Linked DNA regions of Homo sapiens: region 2 is linked to region 1. Evidence: promoter capture Hi-C in human tissues and cell types (Jung and others, 2019). All regions are on one chromosome and are shown on one strand. Each heading gives the region's core, a stretch centred on a gene start or on the middle of the fragment in contact. The rest is flanking DNA. Distances are from core to core; before and after follow the strand shown.

Evidence for each region. Contacts are between HindIII fragments. The study calls those that stand out against the background at their distance.
Region 2: a fragment that was not itself captured here is called in contact with the fragment with the promoter of GLCE in region 1 in 1 of the 25 tissues and cell types used here (mesenchymal stem cells).

The regions. Positions count from the first base shown.
Region 1 is chr15:69,159,022-69,162,183 of GRCh38, reverse strand. It overlaps GLCE (glucuronic acid epimerase), which reads right to left and starts at 1,549. Exons shown (of 5, transcript NM_015554.3): 1 at 1,427-1,549. It also overlaps the pseudogene LOC100421574. RefSeq lists silencers at 1,170-1,279, 1,480-1,689 and an enhancer at 1,387-1,887. The HindIII fragment of the contact is 12,441 bases long and covers 1-3,162 here.
Region 2 is chr15:69,340,113-69,343,274 of GRCh38, reverse strand. All of the region lies in intron 2 of PAQR5 (progestin and adipoQ receptor family member 5), which reads right to left. Among named protein-coding and RNA genes, the nearest start is that of PAQR5, 43 kb to the right of the region's middle. RefSeq lists enhancers at 17-517, 518-1,018. The HindIII fragment of the contact is 5,737 bases long and covers 1-3,162 here.

The sequences.
Region 1 (3,162 bases), core at 300-2,799:
AAAAGCTCGATTAACCATCCTTACAGGTCACAGAAAACGTTTTTGCAGAGTTCTAGCTTTGGGATTTCAAATTCCATTGTTTTCTGGAGGCTGAATTTGACGTTATCCCTCTCTACAAATGCTTTTCAAAGGACAGAAAGAAGCCAGACAGAACACGCTTCCCTGCACTATCCGACTCTGCCTAACATTCACTCAGGCAAGACTTCAGAACAGATCTAATCATGCAGGATGAGCAAAGCAGACCACCACCTAGGAAAGCAAGCCAAAATCAGTCTTCCCCACCCTCAACAGATTCCAGTTGCTCAGGAGCTGTATCCACGCTCAACCTGCGGACACCGGCCTCCTAAAGAACCTGCAGACCAAACGCCCACCTAAGGTGCTGCCACTCTAGCTCCCGGAGCTCCAGCGAGACCAGCGCGCCCCCACAGGGATCCCGGGGCAGAGAAAAGAAAACTGCAGAACAAACGCACTGCTTCTTCAACTAGGCAACAACACCGATCAATCCTCCAACTAAGCATTGAGTAAATCTCATCCAGAGAGAAGGAGACCTGAACAAAAACGTTTCAGGATGCTGCCCAGCCTGCGCGGTAGCACCAAAGCCCTCTCCCGCCCTCAGCGGACCCAGCGCCTGCGGAGCCGCGCCCACCCCGAGAGACTGCCCGGGGGCCAGCTAACTCGCCCCGTCGCCCCCAAAAGACTGGAGACCATGCCAAGTTACCGCCCCGCTCCGGGCAAAGCAGAAACCCCGGCCAGACGCTGGTCGCCGCTACACACCCTCAGCCCCCAACAACCCCCCAAGGCGGCCCCGGCCCCAGCGGAACGGATACATCGCTCTCTCACCCGGAGACACCGATGAACAGACCCCTCTCCCCAGAACCCGGACACACTGCTTCTTCATCCCAGCAATGCGAAACGGACGCCCACGCCCGCTCAAAGAACCCCCAAGACCCCGATGATCTGCCTCCAGAGACAAGGTTTACACCGGTGTAAACCTTGCTAAACTGCATTCTCTGCCCCAAAGAGCTCGGGACCCGGGTAAAAAGACCCCTTGTCCCGGAACCCCGCTACACCACCTCCAAGAAGCTCAAGACCCTGATAAATCTCCCTCGACGTCAAAGACCTAGGACCCCGTGTGCCGCCACCCACCCCTACCCCAAGCCGGAAGAGCCCCCAGGATCCCTAATACATTGCCCCCTCACCTCGGGAGCTCCGGCACCCGCTACACCGCCCTTGGGCGCCCGCGCCCGGATCCCACTGCACCGCCTCCTCGCCCCCCGGACTCCCAAACCCCGCCAAGCCTCGCGCCCACCAGGCAGCGCCGCGCAGCCCCCAGAGCCGCCCCCGTCAGGAGCCCGCCTGCTCCGGCTGCTCCGTGTCCCCGCTCCCCGACCGCTCCTCAGCGGAGACGCGCTCCGGGCTTTCTAACCTGAGCAGCGTCGGAGGGCGAGCAGACACGGGAGCCCTGAGGAAGAGAAGGAGACAGCAGAGAAGGGGTGGCTCAGGCCTGCGGTGCCGCAGCTCCAGCCTCTCGGCAAGGAAGCGCTTGTGTGAGGAGAGCCCTCCCGCTCCGCGCGCAGCCGGGAGACCGAGCCACCGCCGTGCCCGCAGCTCTTCCCGCGAGATCCCAGCCACGGCAAGGGGCGGGGCCACGGCGGGGGGCGGTAGCGGCAGCTCCTCGAGTGACAGTCCTGGCAGCCTGTCGGCTGCAGGACGGGCGGCAGGACTCGGAGTCTACTACGACCAATTGTAAAAAAGGAAAGGTGATTCTCCCCGCCCCTTCTCCGCCCCTCTTCTTCTCCGCTCCTCCTTAATAAACTGTGAGCAAAGGTAGTAGTGACCAGAAGTAGTAGGAGGCAGTGGACTTTCGCGGTAAGGTAGCTCGAATGACGTGACGTGCTTGGCTTGTGTGTGGTCCTGCTAGGCCGCCGTAGATACACCTGGTTTGGGGAAGAGGCTGGTCTTCACACCGGTGTAAACCGAGGTGCGGTTACCCTTGGTTACAGCGCTGCCCGAAGTGCGCTGGGGATTCCCATCTTCCAGGTTGAAGGCCCACCCACTCCGGTTACCCGCGTCTAAACCTCCATTTAATTCCTTTCCCCGATTTGGGCCTCTCCTCCCTCTCCACCTCAAACAGGGCACCATTGTTAAGATGCCCATGTTTTCCAAACCCCAACCCAGGACATCTGGTCTGACAAAGAACTCGTCTGATGACTGTATTTATTTCTACATACAGCCTTCCAGAAGAATGAAAAGCAAATCTCGAGTTACCAACATAACAAATTCCAAAATTAATGAAAAGTCGTACCTTTATAGACCCCAGTGCCCAGTAGTATTTGGCACACCCAGGGCACTGAATAATGTGAAAGGAATGAATTAAGACTGTTAAATATATGCAAATCTCGAGTTACCAACATAACAAATTCCAACATTACATGAAAAGTCGTACCTTTGTAGACCCCAGTGCCCAGTAGTATTTGGCACACCCAGGGCACTGAATAAGGTGAAAGGAATGAATTAAGACTGTTATACTTAAATATATTAAATCTGGACCTGGCCCCAGAAAATTCGGCTTTCCTAGCCTTTCCTCTATAATGTGAGCCAGTGGCTTCACCCTTAAATCCAGGCTCTTCATTATTATGCCTATCCTGTACCTTCATTCATCTTACCCTCTTCACTCCCTCACCCACAGCAAGAAGTGCCCTTTCTCCTCAAGGTTAAATCTTGCACCTGTGCCCTGGATCCCAGCCATTCCCAGATTTTATTCAGCTATTCTTTCTTTCCCCATTATTAATTTCTTCCTCTAACCTAAATCTTTCTCCCACAAACATAGTCTCGCCCATCCTTTGAACAGAACAAAGCCACCCAATCTCTTCCACCCAAACTACCTTCTCCTTTCTCCTAGGAATCACACTTCTTGGGAAACATTATATTTGCTGCTGAGCACTGTGGCTCATGCCTGTAATCCCAGCACCTTGGGATGCCAAGGTGGGAGGATTGCTTGAGGCCAGGAGTTTGAAACCAGTCTGGGAACATAATAAGGCTCCCCTATATGCAAAAAATAAAAAACTAGCCGGGTGTGGTGGCACACACCTATAGTCCCAGCTATTCGCGGTGGGGGAGGCGGGGTGCTGAGATGGGATGATCGCTTGAGTGTGGGAGGTT
Region 2 (3,162 bases), core at 475-2,974, 180 kb before region 1:
TACACCCAGCTGTGATGCCACTTCTTTGTTCCTGAAAAATATATTGGAAAACAAAATACTCAACTCATAGTCGGGTAATGCAAAACAAAGGCAAAGAACACTGTTTGGTAGGAAATTTCTCCATGCTTGCTTTAAAATGGAAACATGAGACTGGGAAGCTTCTGAGAAGCCATCCAGTCTAAATCACCACCGGATGTCTGGATTTTGTTAAAGGCATTTCAGACAAGTGGTCATACATTTGACCCAAAGAAGCAAGGTTAACATAGGGGTTTCAGGTTCTGTGAGAAGGAAGCAAGGAGATGTCAGGACAGGGAAGCCAGCATCACCTTTCTGCTTATCTCAGAGTGGTCTGAATGCCTCCTGCATGTGGTAGGAGGAGCTGGCTTCTTTAGCCAGTGCTGCAAGGTGCAGGGTCTGAGCGTGGCTGGAGAAGAACAGAGAGTGAGAGGTGAAGGGGAGGTCCTGAGTTTAGGCAGGCTCTGGGTGGCTGAGCCACACTTCTGATCCTCTCCCTCCCCTGGGGCTCCTGTCTAATCTCCTTCATGTGAACAGAAAACAGCACAGAGCCCAGGAGGTGAATGAGGCCAAGTCTTGATCCCATCACTGTGCCAGAAGGCCCCAGCAGTCCTCACCACCTCCAAGGACTGAATAGCACCCTGGGGGACGATGGAGGGAGGCAGAGCCTAGGAGCAGGGGCCCCAGCTGCTTTCAGACCACGTTTTACCTTAAAACATGTGATCAAAATTAAAAACCTGTATGCATCAAAGGACACTATCAAGAGAGTGAAAGACAGCCCACAGAATGGGAGATTTGCAAATCAGATGTCTATAAGAGACTAATATCCAGAATATATAAAGAATTCCCAGAACTTGACAAAAAAATTCCAAACAAGCCAATTCAAAAATGGGCAAATGGCTTGAATAGATATTTTTCCCCAAATATACAAACAACCAATATAAAAGAAATAATAATAATAATAATAATAATAATAATAATAATAATAATAAAAGAACAAACAACCAATAGGCACATGGAAAGATTCTCAGCACCACTAGTCATTAGGGAAGCACAGTTCAAAACCATAATGGGATACCGCTTCATAGCCATTAGGATGGCTGCTATCAAAAAACAAAACAAAAAACACAGAAGGTAAGTATTGGCAAGGGTGTGGAGAAATAGAAACTAATGCATTTCTGGTGGGACTGTAAAGTGGTGCAATAGCTATGGAAAACAGTATGACAGTTTCTCAAAAAGTTAAACAGAATTACCATATAATCCAGCAATTTCACTTCTATCTATATACCCAAAAGAAGTGAAAGGGGCTGAAACAGTTTTTTTTTTTTTTTTGAGACAGGGTCTCACTCTGTTGTCCAGGCTGGAGTGCCTCACTGCAGACTTGACCTCCTGGGATTAAGTGATCCTCCCACCTCAGCCTCCTAAGTATCTGGGACCACAGACACATGCCACCACACCATCTAATTTTTGTATTTTTTGTAGAGATGAGTCCTCCCTATATTGTCCAGGCTGGTCTCAAACTCCTGAGCTCAAGTGATCCACCCACCTTGGCCTCCCGAAGTACTGGGATTACAGGTGCGACGGCCTGAAGCAGGTATTTCTAAACCAATTTTCATAGCAGCATTACTCACAATGACCAAAAGGTGAAAGCCCAAATGCTCTTCAGCAGATGAATGGATAAACAAAATGTGGTATATCTATACTACAGGATATTACTCAGCCTTAAGAAAGAATAAAAGGCCCAATGTGATGGTTCATGCCTGTAATCTCAGCTACTCTGGAGGCTGAGGTGGGGGGACTACTTGAGCTCAGGAGAACAAGGCCACAGTGAGCTGTGATCACACCACTGCACTCCAGCCTGGGCAACAGAGCAAGACCCTATTTTTTAAAAAAAAAAAAAAAAAAAGGAATAGAATTCTAATACATGTTTTAACATGGGTGAGGCTTGAAAACATTAAGTCAAATAAGCCAGACACAAAGGGACAAATATTGTATGATTCCATTGAGATGACATGCCTGGAATAGGCAAATTTTAGAGACATTTACGTAAAGACAGTCTGGCAGGGGGGCCGGGGGCGGGTAGAGGGGATGGGGAATTAGTGTTTAAGGGATACGTAGTTTCTATTTGGGAAGATGAAGAAGTCGTGGAGATGGATGGTGGTCATAGGTGCACAGCAATGTGAATGTACTCAATACCAACGAATTACACATTTTTAAGTGCTTAGCATGATAAATTTTATGTTACGTATATTTTACCACAATAAAAAAGTATCATTAAAAAGCACGTGCTTTTTGTAGTCTGCTCCATAATTTATAGTTGTTTTAATACAAAAATTTATTTTCTCCAAATCTTCCAGAAAAAAAATACATATTATACACATCCTGTTGCTGCAAACTGCCTCCCCCACTATTGTGAGAAGCGCAGACTAGTTCAATCCACCCTTCTTCCTATTTTATATCTGAGAACCTCAGATAGGAAATGACTTGCTTGAGGTCACTCAGTGAGGGCCTGGCAAAGTCAAAAATAAGGAAGGTCTCTAACGAACAGTGGGAACATGTGCATGGGTCCTAGAGTTGGAAGGACCAGAAGCTCACCCCGCCATGCCAATGCCTGAATCCACCATGGGAAGAAAACGGCCAACTCACAGGGCAGGGAGCTGGGGGAAAGCTGAGGTCACTCATCAGCTGAATGACACGTGCCTGAACTTCAGCCTCCTTGCAGCATGGGTCAAATGCCCACCTCAGCAAGATTATAAACAACTCCCAAGTAGTTTGCCATTCATTAAAGCCATGATTATGTCTGCTCACACAGTGCTTTCCAAACTGCAGGTCACAACCTCTCAATGGATCGTGAAATCTATTTAGTGAGTCATGATTAACATTTAAAGATAGAATCGTATGGAAAAGAATAGACAGAAAATATCAGTGTATTGCAGAGTAAAGGTAAGTACTGTTTTATGATGTTTGTTACATATGTTTATAGATATTGCTTGCTATGTTATGTATGACTGTATGTGTATACTAGATTATGACAAAAGGTATTGCTTACTAAAAGCCATAAACAAAAAAGCTTGAAAAAAAGGTGTTAATGTGAGGCCGGGCACGGTGGCTCATGCCTGTAATCCCAGCACTTTGGGAGTCCAAGGC